Regions from separate parts of the Homo sapiens genome. Here all the other regions are linked to region 1. The links are contacts of gene promoters, found by promoter capture Hi-C in blood cells and fetal thymus (Javierre and others, 2016). All regions are on one chromosome and are shown on one strand. Each heading gives the region's core, a stretch centred on a gene start or on the middle of the fragment in contact. The rest is flanking DNA. Distances are from core to core; before and after follow the strand shown. Region 1 holds the start of TGFB2 (transforming growth factor beta 2). Region 2 has its middle 160 kb from the start of LYPLAL1. Region 3 has its middle 52 kb from the start of LYPLAL1. Region 4 overlaps LYPLAL1-DT (LYPLAL1 divergent transcript). Region 5 overlaps LYPLAL1-DT (LYPLAL1 divergent transcript). Region 6 overlaps LYPLAL1-DT (LYPLAL1 divergent transcript). Region 7 has its middle 110 kb from the start of LYPLAL1-DT.

Region 1 (3,960 bases), core at 978-3,477:
AGAGACAATAGAGAAGGCTTGGGGAACCAGCTGATAGGTCAGCACGGAAAGGGGGCGCCTTCCGGAGAGGCTAGTTTTGAGACACTTTTTTTAACCCTTCGTGCACCAGTTCGGCGCGCTCCACGCCAATCGGAGCAAAGAAAACAAACCTACCAAGATTCCTCAGTTTAACTCTGCCCCTGGGAGCACCTCTAGTTTGACAGAGTGGGGCTGACTCCTAGCTGGTGGCCGACTAAAGAACTTCAGGGAAGAGAAAAAGAGAATAACGCCTTTTAAAGCACCGAATTGTTAGGGGGAAGGGAAAGATGGAGAAAATAAAGTAGAAAGTAAACATTTTAAAGCCTGATGGCCTCAAGCATACAACTGAAAAGGAGGTGGTGGGGTGAAGGACAGGAGAACGGGAAAAGAGCGAACGGGAACCGCGAGAGGGAAGGGCGATCCCGGGAGCTGCTGCGGTTTTGAGAGCTCCGGGCAGAGCTAAACCTCAGGGGATGGAAGTCAAAATAAGTACTTACTTTCGGAGGGGAAGAAGGGCGGCATGTCTATTTTGTAAACCTCCTTGGCGTAGTACTCTTCGTCGCTCCTCTCGCGCTCGCAGGCGGCCGCCCTCCGGCTCGCCTTCTCCTGGAGCAAGTCCCTGGTGCTGTTGTAGATGGAAATCACCTCCGGGGGGACTTCCTCGGGCTCAGGATAGTCTTCTGGGGGACTGGTGAGCTTCAGCTTGCTCAGGATCTGCCCGCGGATCGCCTCGATCCTCTTGCGCATGAACTGGTCCATATCGAGTGTGCTGCAGGTAGACAGGCTGAGCGCGACCGTGACCAGATGCAGGATCAGAAAAGCGCTCAGCACACAGTAGTGCATTTTTTAAAAAAGTGGAAAAAAAAGTTGTTTTTAAAAGTCAGAATAAAAAAAAGAAATCAACAATTCTCAAAGTATAGATCAAGGAGAGTTGTTTGGTTTTTTGTTGTTGTTGTTTTTGATGCGAAACTTTTGCAAACAATCTAGTCAATGCCCAACAGAAAAACGTATCCTGCTTGAATTCCTTTAAAAAGAAAAGGCCAGTAGTTCCAAAAGTGGAAATATTAATACGGGACGGGCAGAGGGAACCCTGACTTTGGCGAGTAAGAAGAAAAAAATTCTTGGAGCAATGAGATGGGGAAAAAAAGAGACGAGTGGCTATTAAGTAGAAATAAATTTAAGAGGAGGAAGTGGAGTTCAGTGTGTCAGTCTCGGGTGCGGAGTGGCGGATCTGAACTCGGCTCCTCCGGCCAAAAGGGAAGAGATGAAAAGGTCCCGGGGCTGGCAGCTGGCGAACTGACGGGAGGGGCGCCGGGAGCGCGGTGAGGGGGGCCGCCGAGGCTGACCTGGGCTGAAATTTATATATTTAAAGAAGGAGCGGTTCGGTCCTGCCTTCCACTGCGGCGCTGAGAGCAGGAGCAGCAGCAGCTCCGGAGCAGAGAAGCGCACACGTGTGTGCGTGCGTGTGTGTGTGTGTGTGTGTGTGTGCGTGTGCGCGCGCTGGGGGCGAGCCCAGCGCACCGCGGGGAGGAGGGTGCGCTTCGCAGGGCGCTCGGTACTCGGTCGGGTGCCGCAGGGGCCGCAGAGGCTGCTGAGGCGGCGCGGATCCTGCTCTGGGAGCTGCGCTCCGTGGCCTACACCCTGGCGGGCGCGCGCTGACCCGCTTGGTTACTCCACGTTGCTGCCGCCGCCGCTTGCAAACGCTTCCAGCCTCCAGCTCCCTCCTTCTCCTGCTCCTCCTTCTCTTGCTCCAAACGCCAACCCAGCCACAGACGATCAGCCGTCGCGGTTGCGTTCACCCCCTGCGGATCACAACGGCAGCCCTTGCGACACCCTGGCTGGGGAGTTTTATTCCTGAGGGGGTTGCGCAGGGGCTCCCTTGGACTCCCACCCTTTCCCAACCTCTGCTGGCTTCTCCCCAACGTGGAATTGCTCGCTTAGGGTAGGTAGGCACTTGCCACCCTAAAATAGATCCTCTCTGTCTCCTCCTGTCTGCAGCCGGGCAGCCCCTCAGTTTGTTCCTGGATGACTCCCTAGACCGTCAGGCTAATATTCTCCATCCCCCTCCCCTGCCTCTTTCACTTGCGCTCTCGCTCTGCTGTCTCTTTCTCTCTTTCTCTTTCTATCTCTATCTCAATCTGTCTTTCTCTTGTCAGGAGCTTCTGGAGCTCCGCTCGGAGCGAACCTTCTGCTGCCAGCAGATAACATCACGATCTTGCCGGGGAGGGGAGATTTATAAGTTCTCTCTGAACCACGTGTCTGCCTTCAACAAAGTGACGTGCTAGGATTACAGTCAGAAGTCCTCTCGTTACTTAGACCACGAGCTCTCCCCGAACCGTTGAGGGAGTGTGGAAATGAGGACCGCTGTGGGTAAGGGAGGAAGGAGGTGGAATGTGCGCCCTGACAACAGTGATTTACGGTATTTACTTTCCAGTCATTTTGGACAGGTCTGTTGAAGGAAGGACAATCAAGTCTCCCGTTTTTACTTAGTGTAGCTCAGTCACAGCCTCCCAAGCTGAATCACTTGCTCTAGAAGGGAAGGCTTCCCTCCTGTATTATGTGTGCACACGCACCCCTATGGGAGGGAGCACTAGTCTACTCAGGGCCAGGCCAGTACTGAAGACATACCTTCCAATCTTTTAAATTCATGTCCTACCTCTTATTTTCTGGGATACCTTAGCAGGTTGCCATCCCAGAATTTATTTTGTTAGTTTGTTGTTTACAATGTACCCCTCTGTTTGTGAACTGCTGGAAAACAGAGATCCATCAATTTTACCTAAAGAATAAGGTATACTTGTTTGTTTTACTGATTTGAATGAATGGTCACCTTTATAATTTGCTGCCTAAGCCACTTCTTGTATGGCTTTCTTCTTCACCTTCTTGCTAGGCTAAACATTATCAACCAACTTCATTCTTTCCATAGCATTAATCCAGGAAGCTGGAATTTTAAGTGTTTGATGTCTACTGTTCTACACTACTCATAACTTGACATTTTCAATTTCAACTAAGTCTAAATTAGATGAATACAAGAATAACTCTTACCACTGTTCCACCTTCCCTTTTTCTTTTATTTTACCTTTAGTTACTCAAAGTCAACATTTTCATTTCGGCATGACTCTGCAGCCATACTGACCAGACAGATGATTTAAACTGGAAACTCTGTTGAATGTACTCCCAAACCCAAGATCTCTATACTGTTCTCTACTTCAGATGTTCCTGAGTTCAGAAAAGTCACAAAGAACTTTCTATCACTTTTGGAATTTATACTTCAGTTGTGTATGGGGCCTAGGTTATTAGTAGAGCACTGAATAAATAAAATAATAATAGCTAACATATACTACACTTAGTAATTTGATGTGTGTTGTGTATGGTCATTTAATCTTCACTATGAACCTATAAAGTGGGTCTTATTATCCATATCTGGCAGATGAGGAGACTGAGGTACAAAGAAGTTAAGTACTTTGTTCGAGACCACAGTAAGTGGTAGAGCTGGATTTTTGCAGTCAGGATCCACTATGTTCTTACCTACTATGTACTTCTGAGAAACAATGGTCCCAGAATATGTTCTGACAAACAGGAATTCTGGAGTCAAACAAGTTTGGGAGATACTGGGTACTCTCCTGTCCTCTTAGATTCCTCATTCTGGAACATTATCATGTTAAAGGCTCTGAAACTCCTGTAGAAGAGAAAACCTTTTCACTCTTTTAACCCAGCATTTTCCAAACTCCCTTGAATACAGAATTTTTTCCATTATCACACATTGAAAAACTCTGGAATAAAATAATTGTTCCAACCCACTTCTGAATAATTCTAAAAATTATGTATAAATCAGCACCAGCAGGTTCCTTTCCTTGATACCAGTTTTGAGTTGAAGCAAAGCTACCATCCCAGTAGCCCAAGAAAAAGATAATCAAGAGGCGCTACTGTCAGACTAGTAGTTTC
Region 2 (3,960 bases), core at 895-3,394, 990 kb before region 1:
CATAGACAACACAGAAACAAATAGGCATGGCTGTGTTCCGATGAAACTTCATTTACAAACACAGGTGAAGAGCCAGCTTTTGTGTGCTATGGTTTACTGATTCCTTCACCCCACTTTTAGTAATTTTGATCAGCCACAGTCTTCACATACAGAACAGAAATGGAACAGCCTCTTTGATGTGAGTAGTTGGAAAATATTTCCTAGATGAAGTACACCAGCCCATAGCTAGTGACCAGTCAAGGTGGAGTCTACTTACTTGCAAATCTCCCATGTGCTCCTGCTTTAATCAAATGAAATACAAGAAACAGAATGTATTCAAAGAGAATATTTGTTTTATGGGTTACACTATGTGTTTTATGTTCTACACTGTGTAGATATTTTCTATATCACAATATTACTATAAACCTTCTTCAGATGTTCTTATTCCCTGAATAATTTAACATCAATTTGACAATCTTTGTGCTAGATGGAATAATAGCCCTCCAAAAGATGTCTGTGTCATAATCCCCAGAACCTCTGAGTAAGTTATCTTGTATGTAAAAGGGATTTTGTATATGTGATTAAGTTAAAGATCTTAAACAAGAGAGATAATCCTGGTTGATCAGAGTGGATCCAATGCCCAATGTAATCACGAGATTTCTTAGAAAAGAGAGGCAGGATATTCAGAAGTTAAGGAGGAGAAGACAATGAGAAGATAAAAGCAGAGAATGATGTAATGCAGTCACAGGCCAAGGAATGCTAGCACCCTCTAAAAACTGGGAGAGGTAAGAAACAGGCTCCCCTGGAGCCTTCAGAAAAAACAGCCCCGCTGACAACCTGATTCCAGCCCAGTAGAACTCATTTCTTGTGATGTCATAAGTCATTAAATTTATGGTAATTTTGAAAGCAGACCTAGGAAAATAATACAGTCCTATATCTCAAAATAATATTGAGGCAGATTTCTTTTACTCTACTGAATTCAGTAGTGAAAGCACAATTAAGAAAAAAGAAACATTGCTTTCCATTTCCCAAGCTGATTGGTTATAGGTAGGTTGCACATTGCCATGAGAAAATAACATTTATGGACACTTTGATATCATTACCTCCAACAATGATTTTATGGCAATACTAGTTGTAGGAATAATAATAGTAGAAATGGCAAGTAAATTGGCTAAGGCATGTAAAGGACTTTGTACTTTTGCTGGCCCAAGGAACTCAGAAAATAGTAACAATTGTTATTATCAATAGTTGCAGTGTTCCCAATGGCAACAGTGTTGGTATTGGTATCACTGCTAGTAAAAAAAGTCACCATTTTTGAGTGCATAACATATCCCAGGTACTGTCTTAAGTATTTTTTACTCATTATCTATTTTAATCCTCACATAACACAATAAAATAGGTGTCATTATCTTGGTGAATGAAGAATGTGAATCTCTGGGAGATTAAATTATTTCCCCAATATATCATGACAAGTAAGTAGTAACAGTAGAATTAATTAAACCTTGGTATGCTCACTAATAAAATTCAGGCTTTTTGCAACAACTCAATTTTGAAGCCATCATCCCTGTGCCTCCAAAATTAGCTGGTGTAGCTAATAGAACTCTTGGTTGAGAGAAACTATATCCTTGATAAAAGGGGATATCATGGGACATCAAAGATACACTTTGTTGATGTAACACCTGTGCCAAGAGTTTTTTGTCAACACTGTTTGTGAGCAATGTTGTCAAAATGTTCTCTAGGTGACCAAACAGAAAGACATTCGACCTCTGCTGAGAATGTCTTTCTGTTTGGTCACCTAGAGAACACCCAGGTATTATTTAATGTGATAATCAGGCATCACTTGCTCTGTGAAGCCTTTCTTGACATCACCTTTTCTTGACTTCACTCTTCTATGCCCCTGCTCAAATATTTTTCTTATTAGGGTCTGTCCACAACTTACTTCGTTGTGCTAATTGGGTTTGTATCTGTCTCTCTCATAAGCTTTGTGATATCAACAAACCTGTTTATTGGCAACTGTGTATCCAGTTGTAGCACAATTCTGGGCGCATTAAAGTGTTCAGTGGATATTTAGTGATGAAGATACAAGTGAATAAATAATATGTAAATGAATAGATTAATGAATTATTTTACCATGAAGGAGCAAGGAGAGTTCTCATTCTAGAGGGAAGAGTTTTTAGTGCAGTTTTTTAAAAAATTTTATTCTGCAACACAACTACCTAAATAAGAATACAATATAAACCCCATTTTTTCTCTTACCAAATTACTGTTTCTAATTACATATCGCACTTTATGTTTCTTATAAATTCTAATGTTTTTTTTTCAGCTAAGTTAAAATGAAAGTTAAGCTTATGTGTATGTGAAGATATACCCCAGAAAAATTACATATAAATGAGAAAATGCTGTGTTCTAAAATCTGGAATATGATGCCTTTTTGAAGTAGGTCCTGATTCTTTCACTTTTGTAGTTAACTTAATAAGTAATTCAGCAGTTCTTACCCTGAAAAATATACAGAAGTGGTAACTTGAACCAATGAAATGAGTGTGAACAGGAGGGGATAGTATCGATGGAATTGATTCAAGATACACAAATACAGGTGGTAATTGAAAATAGAGCTGAGAAAACAAAATATGAGACCTAAACTAATAAAAAATTCTTCTGCTCAGTTCTCTATTAATGTAAAAATGTAGTTGGATGAAGAAAATTTGACTTGATTTATGAGAGTTTTCTGTATATGGAGGAAATGTTTTGAGAAGTGGGTTTGGAAAGAAGGTAGATGTGGTAGAGCAGAACCATGAGTGCAAGTATGGGAAAGAAGAAATTTGGGAGCACAAACAAGCATGGTAAAAATTTGGAAAACCATGCTATAAAATATACAAATTCTCCTTTTCATTTATTAGGTTTTCTGTGCCTTCCATGTTACCAAGAATGCTTTTGTGAGTGGAGTATTGGTAGGTTAATACAACAAGAGTTTAAAAGTCTAAGGTAAGGTATGCAGAGGAATAAAAAATAGTCTTCACACAGAAATGGCTAGCATAATAATAATAAGTACACAATACAAAACTTTAAGTTTTTGATTTATTCATTCTAAAAACAATTACTGGGAATCTATTTCATACTAAGGATTATATTAGATGCCGGATAAAATAGATACAAATTTTACAATTATTTCTTTATCAAAACTCAGCCATGGTGTAAAAAGTTGTTATACAAAATGCCATGCAAATGCAGATTAAACACACACACACACACACACACACACACACACACCCCTCTTCATTATGATTGGGTCAGAAAGCTGTCATTTATGCTGGAAAAGTAGGGATTTCACTGAAAGAAAAAAGGAAAATGTATTCTAGATATAGAAGAAAAAGTGGTCAATGGCCCAGGGTCATAAAAATTGGCAGAGTATTAGGGGAGGGCAAATAATCCTACAACATTAGAAGATTAAAGTATAAATGGGGAGCAGAATTGCAGTGGGAGATGAGACTGATGATCAAAGCAGTCCAACAAATTGATCAGATATTATTCTCAGTTATATCAGAAAAGAAACTCAGAGTTAAGAGGGTTGCTCAAAGTCACAAGGTTGATATAATTAAGAAATGTATTCTCTCTCCTTTTTCAAGGTTCTTTCTATTATAGTAATGTTTTCAAAACCATGATCAAAGAAGCCTTGGGATTCTATGATAGAGTTTCAGGAGCTACAAGGGAAGGTGAAGGGGAAACTGAATAAACAAGGAAGGCTTCATTTGAAGTCTTTAAATAATAGACATTTTACATTAGAAATGTTTGAAAAATGTTTTCCATCATAAAGTTGAGAGACATTGCCCTATGTCAATCTTTCTCAAGTCAATCTCATGGTTTCAAAATTAGATTGCAAAAGAATTAATAATATTACCATAAACAGAAAGAGGGCAAGTTGGCAGCTGTCTCCTGGACAAGGTGCTAGCTGGTGACATATGAGAAAGGCTGATTCAGCTGGAC
Region 3 (3,960 bases), core at 507-3,006, 880 kb before region 1:
CTCCTGTGGCTGTTTTCCAAAGTCATGTTGTACAGCAAAAGTTTCCATTTAAACTACAAACTCCTTCCCCAAATGGGACACACTAAATTTAAGGAAAGCTGGCATTTAAAGTGCAAGACTACAGAATTTTCAGCACTATAACTGATCAAAATGAACAAAAAGATGCAAAAATAACCTTGCAAGTGTTAATACTTATAAGTAGGAAGAAGCCCAAATTGATTTCATAAACTAAGAAATATTAGCCAGGAAAAACACAATATCGAAACAGACACCACAAATCAACATCCAACTCCTGTCTTTGAAAGAGGAAGCAGAGTGGTGGGAAGTCAGTAAAGACAATTCTGAAAATCTTCTGAACTCCTCTGATTTAGACTTTTTTTCTCGAATGGAATATGGATGTGCTACTAGAATGTAAACTCCTCAGAGCAGAGATTTTCGTCTGCGTTGCTTACCAAAATCTCTCAGCATTTACAATAATGTTCAATAAATGTTCATTGAATTAATTCATACATACACTGTCATCTTGGCAGAATTAGGCCCCTGCATAGGGGTGTGAACAAGTTCAAACAAACGATGCAGTTTTTTCCACATATCACTCATTCAGTACAAAGACAGAAGAGTTGAAATTATCTTAAAGTATACGTTGGTACTTTCTACTTGCCTGGTTGTTATAACACAATCATAAGATATTGAATTGGTTTTGCAAGTAACTTAATGAAGTACATAATACTTAAACTTAATGAGACTATCTTTATATATGATTTTAAACTTTTCCCCTAGTTAATTCACATTCCTCATTATATTCATCTTTACAACAACTACCAACAGTTGCTTGAAAATTAACTCTTCTATTTTTGAATAAAGAAAATGAGGCAAAATAGTTTGGCAATAAATATTAACTAATAAACAGTTAACTGTTGAATATCTATTGCACACAAGATATCAGAGTACCACAGCATGCATGTTAGAGTTGTTGGTCAGCAACAAAGCTGGATCAGAATTTGAAGTCATTGAGTATTCACCTTTTTTTTTTTTCTATGTGTTATTCCAAAGAGATTTCACATCAGCTACCAGTTACTTTCAGCTGATAGCAGCTATCTATTTGATGTGCTGTGTTGAGAAGGGTTAAGAACCTACGTGGCTTCTCAGGGAAGAATATTTTGACCGATGATCAGTGTCTTCCAAGGACAGAGTGGGAGCAGAATGCATGCTGTATATTTGGCAGCATTTTATAGTCAAAAACAAAATGTTGCCTTTATAAAAACTAAATCTAACCTCAGGGAAAACAAAGGCAAAAAACAGAGGATCAGATCCCTGGATTCTTATGAAATAAATATAAAAGAACATCCAAATAAACTAGCAGTTAAAAAAGCCAACCAGAAATGATAGTTATGTCATTGTTCAGTATTGCATGTCAATTGTGTGGCAATCACTGTACTAGGCACTAAGAGAAAAAAGAAAAGATAAAGGGATAGATAGCCCTTAGCCTTGAGTTCAAAATATGTAGTGGGTACAGGACCAACATGTAAAAGATGAATACAGAAACATGGAGAACAGAGAACATGAGTGACAACTTCTACCATAGACACTTGGGCAAGGCATTGCGTCACTCAAAACTTGTGTCTAAAACGTTTAGTTTGTCAATTGAGGGAGAAGGAAAGAGCATTCCAGGTAGAAGGAATAATATGCTACACACAAAGTCATGAAAAGGTTTGGCACGTCCAGGAAATATTGGCATGGTAGAAGCATCAGGTGTGTGTGTATGTGTGTGTGTCTATCTGTCTGTGCATATGCACTGTAACATGGGAGACGAGAGGCAGGAGGTGAAGCTGTGATGAAGCTGGTAAGGACCAGATTGTGAAGGGATTTACTGCTGAGCTAAAGAATTTGAATGTTATTCTGAAGACAGACTAACATGGGGAGCCAGCAGGGCTTATTAGGTGGTGGAACAGACCAATAACTCTCAGGGCACATGGGAAATAAATAGGTGGAAGAGAGGAGAAACCAGAGGCTGGGAGATCCATCCAAACTGATTATGAGGAGGGTAGAACTAAGAGGGAGTCAACAAGGATGATTTAGATGTCACAATGGAAAGATGTTGCTTTTATAGAACATCAAAAGCATCTGTTAACTGACAAGTGAGAAGATGAGAGGGGGGATGAATAGATGCTGACATAATGATATTATATGGAGAAAAAGTCATTTTTTAAAGATCACAAAAGGAGAAGCAGGTTCCAGGATGAACCACAAAAACAGTAACTCAACTTCTGTCCTGGGCTCTTTATATTAAATCTCACCAGAAACCCATTTTACAGGTAAGGAAACAAATACTTGAAGAGATTAGCATTTTTCCCCCCAAATCACGCATTTGGTAAATGTAAGAATTTTGCATTGTTTTGAACATATTATGCCTGGTGAGCAACCAGGAGAGGAGGCCCAGCAGGAAGTTAGAAACATGAATCTGGAACTAGGATGAGTGCTTAGGGCCAGAGGTATAGACATGGAGCCAGCAGTCTGAAGCCATAGAAATAGCAGCTCAGCCAGAGAGAGAATAAAAAGAAACAATAGAGTCAAAAGGACCTTCCACATTAAGGGGCTAACAATGAGTGGGTCATTGAAAGAAACAGGAAAATAGCTGAGAGAGACAAGAAAAACTAGACTGCAAGGTCCAAGTTTCTAGAATCGGAGGTTAATCAAACCCTATAAAGATATGGAAAAGATAAGGACTGAAGCAGGCTATGGAATTAGAAAATTAGAACTCTGAAGGAAATGATTAATAACCTCCAAAAACTCCTAAATACATAATTCTACACTATGACTATAAACATTAGATTGGGCCTGCTATCACACTGAGGCAGAGGGAGAGACCAATGCATTCCTTTAGCAGAACAGTAAAAACTGAGCTAAAAGCAGCATGAATATTAAAATGTCTACAAAGGAAATAGTTCTGAATCTACAACATTTGAATGTTATATGAATTTTCAGCCATATTTTTTTCTGAACACTACCATTATGGCAGTGTGGCACAGTGACAATAACATCCATAAGGAGAATTATGTTTTTGTCCTGCATAATCAGAACCATGAGTACGTCACCGCTGTTCTTTGGATCTCTGTTTCCATATGTATAAAATGATAATCTCTGAATTCCCCTCCAGTAATAAAAGTTCTTTGATTCTATGGAAGAACTAAGACAATGTTAACCAGCTGACCCAAAACACACGACACTTCATAGGGTAATTAAGAAGTCCCCCTCAAAAATGCATTTTAGCTACTATTTGAAATTGATATTTTTTCTCTTGCCACTTAAAAATACTGTTGTTAGACTTACCTAGAGATTTATTGCTGTTGAAGTAAAATATTTTAAAAGAGTCATATATTTGCTCTTGCCAGTTAGTTCATGTTGTGAACTTTCATTTTTAACACTTCTTTCTTTCTTGTTACATAATCGAGAAGCTGGCTTAATACCTAATGCCCAAAGGAAAGACTTCTGTCTCTCATGGACACCCCCACTCAATATTTCAATTTCAGTAATTTCATTGGCAAAAGAACACATAGCAGAAGTTGCCAAAATTAATATGTTAAGTAACTAATATGTCAAGTATATCTCTAGTTTCAATTGGACAAGCCAATAACTGAACAGGAAAAATCAGGGTAGGGAAGAAAGGGAGACAAAAAATGGAAACAGAGTGATTTTTAACTAAAGTAATACTATGCCTTTAAGAGTAGAAAGTGAAACAGCAAAAGAAAAAAACAAAACAAAATACCAATTATGAATTTATCACAATAAAAACTGAAGTAACAAGCTATTTTGTAATTACCCCTAAAACAAATTTAAAATAAAATGGAAAAGCATCAAACTTTCTCATTGCTTCTTAAGAAAAAAAATAAAAGATCCCAGAAGCTCTGAACCAAACTATTGGCAAAAACATAAGTCTCTTATGGGCATTTTGCCCAAAAT
Region 4 (3,960 bases), core at 883-3,382, 820 kb before region 1:
TTTATTTCTTTGTATCCTCCTGAAATACCTAGAACAGTGTCTCAGATATTACTTGTTGGAGTTAAATTATGCTTTTAATTGAGTTATATTTTGAACAGGAAGGATGAACAGAGAGGAAAGCGCTACACTCCTCTGGCATCTACTTGTTACTCTGGCATGTAAGCAGTAACCAGAGGTACACAGGTGACAGGCCACCTCTTGGAGAAAACCAGCCAAGGCCAGGGTCAGGATCACAATATTAGGCCTGGTTTTCAGCTTAGTGTGGGAAGCAAAATTTTTGAAAATTACAAAGCCCAATGTCAAATCTTGTAGTGAGAACCAAGCAAAGCTAGAACATGACCATGAGCAAGAAATAACTAGGTCATAAAAGACAAGGAAACAAAAGAGCCATGATACAGGAAGGCTGGTAGCTTAAAGTGCGGCATGTGTGATTGGAGTACTGAGGTCAGTCAGCCAATGAAGAAGAGACTCTGTACTATGGCAAGGCAATTAAATTGATGGTGACAATGGCGGGGGTATTTATAGTCTCATTTAAGATTTAGCTTAAAGTTACAGACTCTCTCAAGTGAAAGGGAAACCAATATACAACACACACACACACACACACACACACACACAGTACTCTGAATGCCCGTTAGAGGGTTTGTGAACCCACCAAAGCTAATGAGTAGACCCCTTGAAATTGGTGGATCTCAGAGTGTGACTCACCTGCCTCATACTTTTATGCTTTTGAGGGCAGAAACACATAAAATTAATGGCCACAGGTCCGTTCCAATTCCCAACAAGGCAAAGCTTATGAGAGGTCCTGTGCTTTATGTCCTCAACTAAATCAAAGCAGTACTATTTACCTGGTGCAAGCTACAACTGTCCAGTTTAGTTGATATAGTAAAAATAATTAACTTTTATGGTGGTTGTCTCAGAAATTTGTCTATTATATATACCTATCAGTAAAAAGTTTTTAGAACATCTCTTATAAATGTGTATTTTTAATTTATAAATTATATGAATGCACTATTGTAGTAATGCATTATGTGCATACTGAACATAGAAAAAAGTAGAAATGTAAAACAGGGAAGAAAAGTAAAATATAAACAAATTCTTATGTTTTCTTTCCACATGCCCAAACAACTGTCTTGTACACCCATAAGGTGTAGTAATCCTATTTAGAAAATACTATTCTTTAGGTTAATTATGCAAATCTAAGCATGGAAATAAAAGCAAATAATGTCATTTTGATAGGAATGCCTCATTTTAAGAAAGTATAATTTATATCCCAAAGTCTAAATTTACAAGATAGAGTACGTATAACTTATATCTCAATGAGTGTCTGTTTCTGTGACCTTCTTGCAGGCAAACTGGATTTTTTTTTCATTTTCATTCCTCAGTGTCTATAAAAGCATTCTTCACAGAGTTGTCTTTTTAAAAAGATGCTTTTATAGTGCATCTATTAGAAGGATTGATACCAGTTTTCCTAAAGCTCTTTAGGAACACACCTCTACTTATGTTCCCCATTTTATATCTGGAGACATCCGGTCTTATATTCTACTCTTTTTACCATGTTGAACACCAAGAGTGTTAAAAATGTGCTGTGCCACCTCCTGTCCCTTCAGCTTTGCCCATTCTAATCTCAGCCAGGCTTGTAGCCCTCCTCTATTTACTTCTTCAACTGCCTACTCATTCTTCAAAACTCAGGTCTGCTGTTTCTTCCTTTGATCAGTCCTCTTCTACAGGCTTTTAGCAAGCTCAGCTACCACGAACATAGCCATTTGCACATTTGACTGTTTACTTTTCTGCCTTTCCCTCTTTATACCAACATTGTGGGCCTGAGAAACAATAATATCAACAAAAATAAAGAGCTTCCCTTTAGTGTTGGCTCTGTGCTAAGTCCTTCATCATTCTCTCACTTAAAAATAGGATGCAGGGGTGTGTGTGTGTGTGTGTGTGTGTGTGTGTGTGTGTGTGTGTGTGTGTGTTTGTAGAAAGAATTTTTGCTTATTTTTTTCTCATATTACTTATTAATTTATGCTCACATGGTCATTATAGAATGCATAATACACAAAGGACATTCACAGATTATATTAACCACATCTGTTTCAATAGGAAAAATATAAAAGACAAGCAATTTACTCAATAATTTAGATTTAAAAAAACACGGTACACATCGGTGTTTGGAACCTTAACTGACAATCTCAACTGTTGCTTTAATATGTACCAATGACAGTCTTTGAAAAACTATTTATCCAGGTATTTTATTTCCCTTTTCTAACAATTTGTATATTCTTCTTGCTAGCATTAAAATCAAAATGGAAAAACATTAATAATATTTTATTTATGAAGACAAGTGAGTTGACTGTAATAAAAATATTAATTCATGTCTTGCTTTTCAGTAAGAAATACCACCCATGAAGTCTGCTGGCACTTGCTGCTAGTAATAGTATAATTTCAAGAATGCCAGAAAAAGTGCATACCTTCCCTTGCAAAAGTGTGAATTATTTATTTTTCTTAATAGAAAATGTAAAGTGCATCAGTGTTTGGCTGAAAACAATTTAACAGCATATTTTTACCTAGAAAATGGGAAACATCGAAAGGACTTGTCATAAATTAACATAAACCATAATAATTTATCTCCCTTTCTATAGAGCGTAGGCATATAATTTAAAATCTAAAAACATTTAAAGGATTAGATAATAAATTACATTCAGCTTTCATTAATTTAGCTATTCTTTTTTTTTTTAAAGGGAAAGTTCACCTATGTTACACAGATTTAAGTCTTCCTCTTCTTCTCAAAAAGGTATCCTATTTATGTAGGGTTTTTACATCATGCAGATGGATGTGATAGACAAAAAAGGTATTTTTCATGGTTATTGAAATCATCATATATACTAACAATTTCCCTCTCTTGCCATGCTTGTTAGAGAATAGTTGAGTTTGGTCACATGGCATGGTTAACATCTGGAAGTCACTCAAGGTAATAATTACCACGGATTTGTTGCTTATTCAGAGGAAACATACCAGAATGGAAGTAAAGAAGGCGAGTTTTATGTCTCTTTTGACACACAAGGACTCAAATCCCATCATTGTCTTTACGTCATCCATTACGCCAGTAAAAAGATTGAACTGTCAATAAATACGTTCTTTGTCTTAAAACAAACTTCCAGAAAACGTAAAAATGCACTGCAAATGAAATTTCTTGATTATTTCAGTTCAAACAGGACATGATTTTCATTTTGACCCATGGCCCTAGCCATAAACACAAGGTGCATGCATTTTTTTCTACAATTTGTGCTTTGTGTAAAGCACCAAGTTTCTCTCATAACATTATTAACCAGACTTGTTCATTTCTGAGTATGAAAAAAAATACAGAGTGTAATATAAAAAGTTCAGCCATACTCTTTATACTGAATAGCAATCATTTAACTGTGTTCCACAGATCTCCAAGGCATTTTCAATAGTATCAATCTAAGAAGCTTCTCTAGCAATTTGTTTAAATCTAGTTTAATAATGACATTTTCATTTTGTCTCTATGGCTATTCCTGTAGATTCTATGGCATTTAAAAGGTACATATGAGCTCAAAAAAAAAAGACACAAATCTTGTAGAGAATCAGTTTTTTTTTTTGTTTAAATAGTGGCCTACGTCACAAGTTAGAAAAAAAGTAAAGGTTTTTCTTTACATACAAAGCTTATGCTAATTATGGCAATTGTTTTGGGATCTGTAACTTAAAATGAAGCTCTTTGAAGGCAGAACTTTAATTTGCTATGGTTCTTGTTCTCAGAAGCTGTATGTGTTTTTAATTATTGTCTTTATTGACCAGTGATTGGCTAAATCCTTTTCTCAAAAGACGTCACCACGTTCCACATTACTATGTTCCTAGCTGTTCTGCTGATGTTTCTTGCCAGCCTCCCACGTTGTTTGAAGAAGTACTTACTGCATCTATAAGAGTTTGTCAGGATCTTGCTGT
Region 5 (3,960 bases), core at 1,025-3,524, 790 kb before region 1:
TAAACATTTGCAGGGCAGGTCTGTGTTTATCTGGATATTTTAAAACTAGTCCTTTATTTTTGAAGGATAGTGTTGCAAAATACAGGATTCTTGGTTGACAGATTTTTTTTTTCTTTTACTACTTTGAATATATCAGCCTGATGGCTCCTGGCCTCCAAATTTTCTTATGAGAAACCCAATAATGTTATTGAGGTTCCCTTCTATGTGATGAATTGCTTTTCTTTTGGTGCTTTCAAAATTCTCTCTTTGCATTTGTCTTTCTAAAGCTTCATTATATGTCCTGGTGTGGGTCACTTTGAGTTCATCTTACATGGAGTTTGTGGAGGTTGAAGTACCTCCATCCTGGATGCTAATCTGCCATGTTGACTTCTGATGAACTGCAATTCTGAGAATGCCTCTTAGATTTCTACTTTCACATGCTTACTGCAAATCCTGTCCTTAGGTCAAAACAACTTTGATATTATCATAAACGTATACTTACCATAAATGCTGCCTGTCCTTAGACAGATTTTCTGTGGTAAGTAAGTCCTGGGTCTAGGGGATAATGACATGAGGATCCACCATGTCGTTTTGTGGCCTTCTGAGACATGCCTCCTGTTTCTAAGTCCCTAGTAAGTGTTCCAGCCACACTACCCTCCTAGGTGCTCCTTTGACACACCAGGAGCTACTTGGAGCTTGCTGTATTCCTGTCCACTCTTCCACATGGCTCACTCTTTCACATCTTTCAGCTCTTTCCTCAAATATCTTTTTAGTTAGACTTTCCCAAAAACCTTAATTAAAATTGCTACTGAAATCAGTTTTGCAAAAATTACAACAGTGAGGAAATTACGATGGTGAAAGTGATCTAACCTAACCAACTCCATCTTACTTTTAATCTTCAAACTGCCCTTTGTCATTCCTAGGCATGGGCCCAAGTAACTTTGGGAGAAATTTATAGTTTAAATAATAATAGCCCCTCCTCAAACTAAACTGCCTTTGTAAAACTAATGAAAGGCCACCAGGTTAGGAGGATGAGAGGGGCCTGAATTCTGCTAAGATGTAGATGTAGTTAAATAATTACCAGCTGTTATTCCAGAGGTCACAAGATTCGCAACTTCTTCAATTACTCCTATAAATAACATCACTATTGTAGAACCTAAAATTGGCCTTTTAAGATGTTTTTTCAGGCTTCTGCCTTTTTGACAACCAGATGGTTCCATCCAGACTAGTGACTCCTCTGTGGCCCCCACCCACAAGGGGACTCAGTGCACAATGACTCTTTTCCACACCCCTATGATTGCATCTCCAACCAACCAGCAGCACCCATTCCCTATCCTCTTACCCGCCAAATTGTTCTTGAAAAACCCTAACCACTCGATTGTTGGGTCAGCTGATTTGAGTCATAATAAAACTCCAGTCTCCTGTTTAGCAGACTGTATGTGTATTAAACTCTTTCTCTGTGCAATTCCTATCTTGATAAATAGGCTATATCTGGGCAGCAGGCAAGACTTACACATTTGGTGGTTACACTACCCACTCAACACTTCCTATCCTCACCTGCTTAACTTTTTTTGATACTCTTTGTCACCTTCAGCACACTGTATTTTAGACTTAGTTATGATGTTCAATGTCTATCTCTCCCTACGAGAATATAAGCCCTGAGGACAGAGATTTTTGTCTTTGCCTTTTTTTCTCCCTGTTTATATCCCCAGGTCACAAAGCAGTATTTGGCAGCTTCTTGATTTATAATAAATATGTGTTAATGAGTGCCTATATAATTAAACTAATTTGCAAATGCATTGGCATGAAGACAACTGTATATATAGGAATTTTTAAAGAGATGTTTATTAATATTTTGAGGATGTGTTTTTTGAATAATGCTTAAAATAAGTACTTCTTTTGCTAACAAATAGGCATCTAATGAAAAAAGAAATTGTCATTTTATTTTCTGAATTCCAGTCACCTTCTTTCTTCCCTGCCTGGGCCAGCCAGAAGAAAGGGTAGCATTTTGCTAAGTTCTAAAAAATTCTTCATTCTGCTCTATGTCATTTAGTGTTAAATTCAATCTGATTATTGTCTGTATATTATAGTTATATTCTTATATTATGAATGTCTTATAGAAATGCAGTTACTAGGAATTAATGCTGATCATTTCAGAAAAAAATACAAAATTAATGAATAAATACATGTAGACCTGGTACACCCTGTGTAATAAAGCAATTATGCATATCCTTCAACTAAAGTTTGCCTATGTTCACAATAATCACTTCTGCCCATTTGAGAATATATGTGCTTGCACATCTTGAAGCATTTAATGTTATTCACATCAAGTTTTGGCACCTCATAGAGCATAAGCCATGCCTAGGATAGTTAATCATGGGAGCTGACATTCTTCATTTTCTGTACCTTAAAGTTAAAACTTATTTAAGGTAATCTTTTTTTTTCATATTTTTTCACCAAAGTAAAACTTCCAGAGCATGAAATAATGCAGTTAGTGTAACAGATTTTAAAAAAAAAAAAAAAAAACTACAGTAACTTTTTCTTGTGGTTATATAACGGCAAGGTCAAACTAAGGTGCCATCTGTCTAGATTCCTATCTCAAAATTCAAAAGGAATAACTGGGCATTGGGAAGCCTGCCTCACTGACAAAAATCAGTGACCAACACAAGACAGGGAAATGACGAAAATCCTCATCATTGGCCTGTTTTTTTCTGTGCAAATAGGTCATCAGGAGGAACCATGTATGGTGGCTATCTGGATGTTTGTTTCCTAAGAGCCCAGTGGGAGTTTCTAGTGCCTCCCCAAACTTCCTGCCTCGATTTGAAGTGTCTCTACAGTCTGATTCTCTTCATCAGCTATCCAAACTTATTTCCCAGTAATTTCATTCTAAAGCCTCTGTTTCTGTCATAATGATCCTGACTGTCTCCAGCCCTATTGCACTCACAGCTGTTTCTGTGCCTTATTTAAGTTGTTCCCTCTGCTCATATTCACCCTCTGTTCCACCCTGACACAGTTTTAGAAATTTTAAAAACGCATTTAAGATTTACCTCCTCTAAGATACATTTCCTGGAGAAACCAATTCATACAATCACTTTTCTCGTTCTTTAAAAAATTCATTAATTAATTCATTCACACTATACTTGAAATCTACCCATGTGCCAGATCCTGCTGGAAGTAATGAGGACAAAAGTGAATAAGAATTAATAAACTCAGCTAGGCACAGTGGCCCACGCCTGTTTCCCAACAGTTTGAGAGGCCAAGGCAGGTAGATCACTTGAGGCCAGGAGTTAGAGACCAGCCTGGCCCACATGTGAAACTCCGTCTCTGCTAAGAATACAAAAATTAGCCAGGTGTGGTGGTGTGCACCTGTAATCACAGCTACTCGGGAGGCTGAGGCACGAGAATCACTTGAACCCAGAGGAGGAGGTTGCAGTGAGCTGAGAATGCTCCACTGCACTCCAGCCTGGGTGATAGAGCAAGACCTTATCTCAAAAAAAAAAAAAAGATTAATAAACTCACAATTCATGGTGAAAAATGATGGAAAATAACAGAGTGTTGTATAAGTACTCAAGAGAAGTCACTGATTCCTGTCTGCTGCTCTTTATATACTTTACCCAAATTCACCAATTTCAACATTTTGTTACATTTGTTTTTCTTGCTTGCTTTTTCTCCCTACATTTCCTGAACTACTTGTGAATAGATTGCATATATTATTTCCCTTTACTCTTTAATAATCTGTGTATTATTTTCAAAGAACATTTCTCACATAACCACACTCAAATGGTCAAATTCAGAAAATGTACAATTGATACAATATATACTTTTATGCTTTGCTATTTTCCTTTGATATATTATGGAAGTAACTCCCTACTGCTTCAGTGAATTCTTCTTCATTTTCTTTTATAGCTACATAATACTATACTATTGTATTGTGTGCATGTAACATAGTATATTTAACCAATCTCCTATGCCTGGATATTT
Region 6 (3,960 bases), core at 758-3,257, 750 kb before region 1:
ACATCGCCAAACCATATCATTGGATAATCTGAGATTTTGAAAGCAACCGATATCACTTGAAAATTATGATAATTTTGAATTTTTTCCTTTCTAATTCTTATCCATTTATTTGCATTTTCTTGAATTACATGCTAACTAAACTTAAAGGAGAATGTTGAGTAAAAATTGTAATATGAAATATACTTGTATTAATTCTAAAGGGAACTCTTCTAATGCTTCTCCATACTGAAAGATGTCTCATTTTTGGTAGACATACATTATAAGACTAAGGAAGTCCTTTCTTGCTACTGTTTGGTAAGAGGTATCATCATGATGGTAGGTTAAATTTTATAAATTATTATTCTTCATATAGAATAAAACATTTCAAAATTTATTCTGTTTATTTGCTTAATGGCATTTATTGATTTTCTGATTTAAACTGCCTTGCAAGTTTGTGATAAACCCCAACTTGGTTATATGTGCTTGTATTTTTTTAGCTTGTTAAATTTAGTTTTGTAGTATTTTTAACAAAAACTTAAATCTTTTTGTGAGTGAGACTCACCCACAATTATCTTCTCTATTGTGTTTGTGTGGTTTTGATACTAGGGGAATACTGACCTTATAGAAAGAGTTGAGAAATAGCCCCTCTTTTTCCATATTCTAGAATTGCAATACAATAGAATGGCTGCTCCTTGTAAATCAACTAAACAATCTTAGTGTGATATTTTCTTTTTAGGAAGATTTTCAACCCCCAATTCATTCTCTTCAGTATACACAAGATTAATACAGGCTCTCAGTTTGTGTCTTGAGTAAGTTTGGTATGGTTTTATTTTTAGAAATTTTCTTTATCTAAATTGAAATTTATTGTTTTTATGTATTTTATTTTGCTTTCATGTTTTAAAAATCCCTGTTATGTTTGTGATATACCCACATTTTCATTTTTAAAATTTTTCATTGAGATTTCTTTATCTTTTTGATTAAGTTATCAGAGGTTTATATTTTTTATTTCAATGTAACCAACTTCTGATTTATTTATATTTCCTATTATATCTGTTTTCTGTTCATTGATTGGCATTGATACATTCATTCTATTTTTTTTAACATGACAATTACATCATTAATTTTCAGCATTTATCTTTTTCAAAAAATAAGCACTTTAAAGCTATAAATTTTTCCTCAAAATATCAATTCTGCTTTATCTCTTGCTTTGATATTTTCATTCTTATCTAAGTATTTTATAATTCCTATTATGGTTAATTTTTTATGAGGTATCTTAACTTATCAATGGTTTTCTATTTTCTATTTTTATTTTTTAGGAATGCATAGTAGGTATATATGTTTATGGGGCATATCAGACATTTTGATAAAGGAATACAATGGGTAATAATCACATCAAGGTAAATGGAGTATCATCATCTCAAGCATTTATTACTTTGTTGTGTTACAAACATTCCAGTTATACTCTTATGATATTTAAAAATGTACAAATTATTGACTATAGTCATCATGCTGTGCTATCAAATACTAGATCTTATTCATTCTAACTATATTTTTGTACTCATTTCCTTCCCAACCTCTGGTAACGATTATTTTACTCTCTATTACCATGAGTTAAATTGTTTTAAGTTTCAACTATCAAAAATAAGGGAGAACATGTGAAGTTTGTCTTTTGGTGATTGGCTTGTTTCATTTAACATAATGTTCCATCCATATCTTGGCAAATGACAGGATCTTATTTTTTAAGGCTGAATTATACTTCATTGTGTATGTGTACCACATTTTCTATGTCCATTTGCCTGTTGATGGAAACTTAGGTTGCTTCTAAATTTGAATATTGTGAATAGTGCAGCAATACATATGGGAGTACAGAAATATCTTCAACACACTGATTTCATTTTCTTTGGATAAATATTCAGAAGGGGAACTGCTGGATCATTTAGTAGTTCTATATTTAGTTTTTTGAAGAACCACCATACTGTTCTCTATAGTGGCTAAACCCATGTACATTCTCACCAATGGTGTTTGAGGATTCCCTTTTCTCCACATCCTTGCCAGCATTCATTATTGCCTTTATTTTGGATAAAAGCCATTTTAAGTGGGATAAGATGATATTTGATTTGCATTTATTTGATGATCAGTGATGTTGAGCATCTTTTCACATACCTATTTGCCATTTATATGTCTTCTTTTGAGAAATGACTATTTGGACATTTTGCCCATTTTTAAATTGGATTATTAGATTTTTTTCCAATTGTTTGAGCTCCTTATATATTCTGGTTATAAATTCCTTGACAGATGGATAGTTTGAAAATTTTTCTCCCATTCTGTGGGTTGTCTCTTCACTTTGTTAAATTTTTTTTCTGTGCAGACGCTTTTTAACTTGATGTGATCCCATTTGCCCATTTTTGCTATGGTTATCTCTGTTTTTGAGGTGTTATTCAAGAAACCTTTGCCCAGACCAATGTCCTGTGGAGTTTTCCCAATGTTTTCTTTTGATAGTTTAATAGTCTTAGGTCTTAGATTTAGCTCTTTAATACATTTTGATTTGATTTTTGTAGATGATGAAAAATAGGGTTCTAGCTTCATTCTTCTGCCTATAGACGTCTAGTTTTCCTAGCACAATTTATTTAAGAGATTGTCTTTCTCCACTGTATGTTCTTGGCGCCTTTGTCAAAAATAAATTCAACATAGCTGTATGGATTTGTTTCTGATTTATCTATTCTGTTTCTTTGGTCTATGTGTCTGTTTTTATGCCAGTACCATGCTGTTTTGGTTACTATAGCTCTATAGAATAATTCAAAATCAGAGAATGTGCTTCCTCTCATTTTGTTCTTTTTGCTCAGAATGACTTTGGCTATTCTGGGTCTTTTGTGATTTCACATGAATTTTGGAATGATTTTTTTCTATTAATGTGAAGATTGTATTGGTATTTTAATAATGATTGCACTGAATCTGTAGATTACTTTGAATAGTGCAGACATTTTAACAATATTGATTCTTCCAATCCATGAGCATAGAGTATCTTTTCATTTTTTTCTGGTCTCCTCAATGTCTTGCATCAATGTTTTATAGAGTGCATTGTAGATATCTTTAAATTCTTTAGTTAAATTCATTTCTAGGTATGTTATTTTATTTGTAGCTATTGTAACTGGGATTACTTTCTTGATTTCTTTTTCAGATTGTTCACTGATGTAATATGTAAATACTATTGATTTTTATATGTTGATTTTGTATCCCTCAACTTTGCTGAATTTGTTTATTGGTTCTAATAGATTTTTGTTAAGGTCTTTAGGTATTTTTCAGATATAAGACCATATCATCTGCAAACAAAGATGACTTACTTCTTTTCAATTTGGATGTTCTTTATATCTTTTTCTTGTCTGATTGCTCTAACTAGAACTTCCAGTACTATGTTGAATAATAGTGGTGAAAGTGGATGTTTCGGTTTGTTCCAGATCTTAGAGAAAAAGTTTTCAGTTTTTCTGTATTCAGTGTGATGCTAGCTGTGTGTCTGTCATATATGGTTTTTATTGTGTTGAGATATATACTTCTATACCACATTTTTAGGGCTTTTATTATGAAAGGAGGTTGAATTTTATCTAATGCTTTTTACCTTCGGTTGAAATGATTGCATGTTTTTGTCCTTCATTCTTTTGAAATGATATATCACATTGATTTATTTGCATTTGCTGAATCATTCTTGCATCCCTGGCATAAATCCCTCTTGGTCATGATGAATTATCTTTTAAATGTGTTGTTGAATTTGGTTTGTGAGTATTTTGTTGAGGATTTTTGCATCAGTATTCATGTGGAACATTGGCCTGTAGTTTTCTTATTTTGATGTCTCTGTCTGATTTTGGTATCAGGGTAATACTGGCCTCACAGAATGAGTAAGGAAGTATTTGCTTCTTTATTTTTTTGGAATTGTTTGAATAGGATTAGATTAATATTAGTTCTTTAAATTTTGGGTGAAATTTAGCA
Region 7 (3,960 bases), core at 571-3,070, 720 kb before region 1:
AATGATGACATTAATAAATACCATTTTGGACAGGTAAGGTGGAGCAAAAAGGAGTTAAGGAAAGAAAATGGCAAGGAGAAGGGAGGAAAGAGCAGCAATAAAGACAAACCACATTTCCCTTATATGTTTACTTAGGATGCAGCTTTAACCTTTCTTTGACCATAAATTAGATCCACTATTCATGACTTTGTTTGCAAAATTACTTCCATGCCACACTTACGATGCATAGCATTGTGATTATATATAATGCTAGATGTGTCTTTTTTTACAGAGAGCTGAAAGATGTAATAATTTATTTTGTTCATGGAGAAAAGTCTTTTCTTATAGGTGCAGAGAAGGCCATTTCCCATCTAATTTTCTTATTTCAGATTAATAAAGGAGAGTATTTATATCCAAATATATATCTACAATTTAACCTAATAAGCATAGACATTGGAGTCTTTAAGATGATTTTGCCTGAGTGTCATACTTAAAAACAAAGCACAATGAAAATGGGGAAATTGGCCAGGTGAGGTGGCTCACACTTGTAATCCCAGCACTTTGGGAGGCCAAGGCGGGTGGATCACGAGGTCAAGAGTTCAAGACCAGCCTAGCCAAGAGGGTAAAACCCCGTCTCTACTAAAACTACAAAAATTAGCCAGGCGTGGTGGCAGGCATCTATAATCCCAGCTACTCGGGAGGCTGAGGCAAAAGAATCGCTTAAACCCAGGCAGCAGAAGTTGTAGTGAGCCGAAATCACGCCACTGTACTCTGGCCTGGGTAACAGAGTGAAATTCTGTGTCAAAAAAGAGAGAAAGAAAGAAAGAAAGAGAGAAAGAGAGAAAGAGAGAGAGAAAGGAAATGGGGAAATTGACATTTGTTGATTATTTCTTAGGTGCCTGGGGTCTGCCCATCCTGTAAAAGTGGCACTGACGCTACACAATCTAGTTTAATCTGTATCCCTGTATTATCAAATCAAATCATTCCTCAATCCACTAATAAGATAATCAAGCTGGTAGTTAGCTTTGTGCAAATAATATACCTTCTGCTTTACTAAATCATAGAGTTTTTAGATGAAATACATTCTGAGGAGATAGATGTGTTCATAATAGGTAGTCAAAAATAGGGTATGTTTTAAAAGGTAAAATGCTACTTTAAATACATAGGATTATTGAGAAAATTCAAAGAGATACTGTGTCCACTCAAAGCTTTTTTTAAAAAGAGAGATAATAATAAGACTATATTGATTTTATAAAATGGATGACTAAAGAGTAAAAATGAAGATTCTATAGTATTGACTCGACACAGCAGAGGAATCAAGATGGTCTCCCTGAACTCCTTTTATCTGATAATGTTCCATAGCACTTACCCCAAATCACCAAATTTTTAGCCAGTTTTTAAAAAACGAACTTTGACACTTGGCAAATTCATGAGGAAGACATGTATCCAGGTTTTATGGCCCAGCTCAACATTGGACTGTCTTGGGCCTAGCACTCTTTCGGCTCTTTAATTCTCTGAATAATGTCCGCCTATACAGCTGAGAGAAATTTGTCATCTTCTCAGTTGTTATAAGTCATCACTTTCATGCCCTACCTACAGCACATGTGAATTGTGGGGGCTTAAGGGAAAGTGCGCTTGTGCATGTCAAATTGCCTACAAGAATGGACATGGGGGTTGGAGGCAAGCCCTTTCCCACCTCTCCAAAGAGCAGCAGAGATGAGATTCCTATAGTTATTTATTGAACTTGGATTTTCAATCATTGCTGAGGTATAATCATGCCTTCTCTTGTTTTGTTTTTTTTCTTTTACAATTACAGTACTTCATTATTGCCACAGGGGGAACTGTTGGCTTAATTTTGCTTTGGAGACACTGCTGCTGAAATTATTAAGCTAATGATTTATGCCCTGTGTGATACAGCAATCTCTTGTGCTTAAAATGGTTACTATGTTTTGTTTACTGTTTATAACTACCAGTGGTTGTGCCACAAGAAACCTCTGCCAGCTTGCAGAGTTTATTTATCCCTGTGGATCTTTAGAAACCACTGATTAATATAGAAAAAATTTGAATGGTTTATATTAAAAAAATCCCATAAGCTATGAATTAAACCACTGTGCTCTGCTATATAGGAAGAAAAGTTAAGTGAGAATGAACAATGGATGTCAAAACCTACTGACTCTCATATTTGCTTCTGATTTTATCAAAGTGGAAAATATGAGTACTTTTCAGGAATACAGTGCTGTGACTCCATCAGTTTTGGGCAATGAGATCACCAGTATTTCCCCTTGGGTGCTGCACATTTTACCATATTAAGGAACCAATTTGCTTAGAGAAATGTTGCACATGTTTAAAGGCTGTTAAGTTTGATGGCTGGCAGAACTCTCCCATTTAGCCCTGAGGCTGGGCCTTCGTGAATGAAGGCTTTACAACTGGCCTGCATTTTTTGTTCTGAGGGCTTTTTGTAACCAAAAGCTTACACGGGGCAATCATAGGGCAGGGAGGGACATGGTTTGCAAGTGTTGATTTGTTTAAAATGGCAAAATGGTTCTTATACAATGTTTAAGTCTTGACACTGCTCTTTCACCAAGAGAAGCAAAGAAAATATCACTGTTGTTTTGGGCAGCTTTAGCCCAATTCCACACCTTCAGTCTTAAGCATCACTTGCTTACACTTCAAGTATACCTTCCTGCTGGTTTCTTAACCTCATCAGTTCTTTTGGCTTGGTTTTGACTTCAAACTAGTTCTCCACCTCTCTCTTTTGGACAGCTCCACATTTCTGTTCCTCCTCTGATCAGCCAGTTCTGATTATTCCCAGGGCACCTTTTCTCTATGGTCTCAAGTGATTCAGTCAAACAAAGAGTACCCTTCCCTGAGCAGACCTTGGCCATCACACACAACCAGCCATCCCAAGTACAAGACAATGCTGACATTTTTGCAACAAAGCTGAATGTAACGCTAAAACTTTTCTCAGTCAGGGATCTGTAAATGTGATGAATGTAGACAACTCTGCCTAAAAGACAGAACTTGAGCAATTCAGTTTCTAAGCAGGAAAGTGAGGGACAGACCTTAATTATGGGAACAAAACTGTCCTTATGTTTTAATTTCATAATTTGAGCATCTGTATATAGCTTTAGCCACAGATATTCCCTTTATATCAGACTTCCTGTACTAAAGTGCTGTCAGACATTTAAGAGGAAGATATGGGTAGATGGTTAAAACACCAAAGAATAATAACATCTGTTTTATTTCTCCTCAGAACCCATTAATTTTCTTCACAAAGATGCACACTTTGGACATAAAGAATATTTATGATATTACAGTGTGTGGGAGTATGGAAAACATATTAGCCAAGTGGCAACTTTAATTAAGTATACCTGCCTAATTTCATAGGGGTTTTCATTCAGTATGTGTTTTCATCTAGAGCCTTAGAACACTTCCCTCTTGTGTTAGAAAAATGAAATTAAAGAAACAGAAACTCTGATGTAATTTAATTTAAATTACATCAGAATTACACTAAATGTTTTTTGATGAATTCTGTTTAAATTTTAACACAAATTTAGAAACTAAAACCTATACAGCTTAAGTGTCTTGCAGATTATTTTTAAAAACTCAAAAAATGTAATTTAATTACAGATCTTTAAGTCACAAAATCTAAAACCAGTGTGGTATATGATTTGAAATTTCATACTAACCACAAAACAGATTAAAATATAATGCTTAATAAACATGGCAGGCAAAATATCTATGATATGTAAAATTTTATAATATGAAAAATTCTAAGCTATAGTAGATAGATACGGAGATTAGACTTCTTAGTGTTAACCAACTGAATAATTTTCAAGTATTTCCAGTGAAAAATATTGAAAAAAACTGGAAAACCAAACGCTTTTTCAGGGAAACCGGAGACCAAGAGTTAAATATATCAACAAAAACAATTGATATTATATTTTTAAACATTATGTGTGATGGTACATTTTCTGTCCA

The links. Contacts are between HindIII fragments. The CHiCAGO score rates a contact against its expected background, and 5 or more counts as called.
Region 2: a fragment that was not itself captured here is called in contact with the fragment with the promoter of TGFB2 in region 1 in 1 of 17 cell types (naive CD4 T cells); the score reaches 5.5 in naive CD4 T cells.
Region 3: a fragment that was not itself captured here is called in contact with the fragment with the promoter of TGFB2 in region 1 in 1 of 17 cell types (megakaryocytes); the score reaches 5.2 in megakaryocytes.
Region 4: a contact is called between a fragment that was not itself captured here and the fragment with the promoter of TGFB2 in region 1, in 5 of 17 cell types (total B cells, naive B cells, total CD4 T cells and 2 more). The highest score is 7.7, in total B cells.
Region 5: a contact is called between a fragment that was not itself captured here and the fragment with the promoter of TGFB2 in region 1, in 1 of 17 cell types (M1 macrophages). The highest score is 5.1, in M1 macrophages.
Region 6: a contact is called between a fragment that was not itself captured here and the fragment with the promoter of TGFB2 in region 1, in 1 of 17 cell types (total B cells). The highest score is 5.1, in total B cells.
Region 7: a contact is called between a fragment that was not itself captured here and the fragment with the promoter of TGFB2 in region 1, in 3 of 17 cell types (endothelial precursors, M0 macrophages and total B cells). The highest score is 17.6, in endothelial precursors.

Annotation. Positions count from the first base shown.
Region 1 is chr1:218,343,603-218,347,562 of GRCh38, reverse strand. It overlaps TGFB2 (transforming growth factor beta 2), which reads right to left and starts at 2,227. Exons shown (of 7, transcript NM_003238.6): 1 at 516-2,227. The coding sequence starts at 861. TGFB2-AS1 (TGFB2 antisense RNA 1) reads left to right here and starts at 1,885. Exons shown (of 3, transcript NR_046268.1): 1 at 1,885-1,960; 2 at 2,175-2,388; 3 at 3,101-3,367. RefSeq lists enhancers at 178-678, 1,810-1,859 and a silencer at 2,240-2,299. The HindIII fragment of the contact is 5,586 bases long and covers 1-3,960 here.
Region 2 is chr1:219,333,813-219,337,772 of GRCh38, reverse strand. It overlaps a transcript of LYPLAL1 not described here. Among named protein-coding and RNA genes, the nearest start is that of LYPLAL1, 160 kb to the right of the region's middle. The HindIII fragment of the contact is 365 bases long and covers 1,962-2,326 here.
Region 3 is chr1:219,223,667-219,227,626 of GRCh38, reverse strand. It overlaps a transcript of LYPLAL1 not described here. Among named protein-coding and RNA genes, the nearest start is that of LYPLAL1, 52 kb to the right of the region's middle. The HindIII fragment of the contact is 5,390 bases long and covers 1-3,960 here.
Region 4 is chr1:219,163,694-219,167,653 of GRCh38, reverse strand. The region is part of intron 1 of LYPLAL1-DT (LYPLAL1 divergent transcript); the gene reads left to right. Among named protein-coding and RNA genes, the nearest start is that of LYPLAL1-DT, 8.1 kb to the left of the region's middle. The HindIII fragment of the contact is 2,675 bases long and covers 795-3,469 here.
Region 5 is chr1:219,130,793-219,134,752 of GRCh38, reverse strand. All of the region lies in intron 3 of LYPLAL1-DT (LYPLAL1 divergent transcript), which reads left to right. Among named protein-coding and RNA genes, the nearest start is that of LYPLAL1-DT, 41 kb to the left of the region's middle. The HindIII fragment of the contact is 4,011 bases long and covers 269-3,960 here.
Region 6 is chr1:219,092,086-219,096,045 of GRCh38, reverse strand. All of the region lies in intron 3 of LYPLAL1-DT (LYPLAL1 divergent transcript), which reads left to right. Among named protein-coding and RNA genes, the nearest start is that of LYPLAL1-DT, 80 kb to the left of the region's middle. The HindIII fragment of the contact is 4,959 bases long and covers 1-3,960 here.
Region 7 is chr1:219,065,100-219,069,059 of GRCh38, reverse strand. No RefSeq gene overlaps it. Among named protein-coding and RNA genes, the nearest start is that of LYPLAL1-DT, 110 kb to the left of the region's middle. RefSeq lists a silencer at 2,447-2,647. The HindIII fragment of the contact is 1,261 bases long and covers 1,190-2,450 here.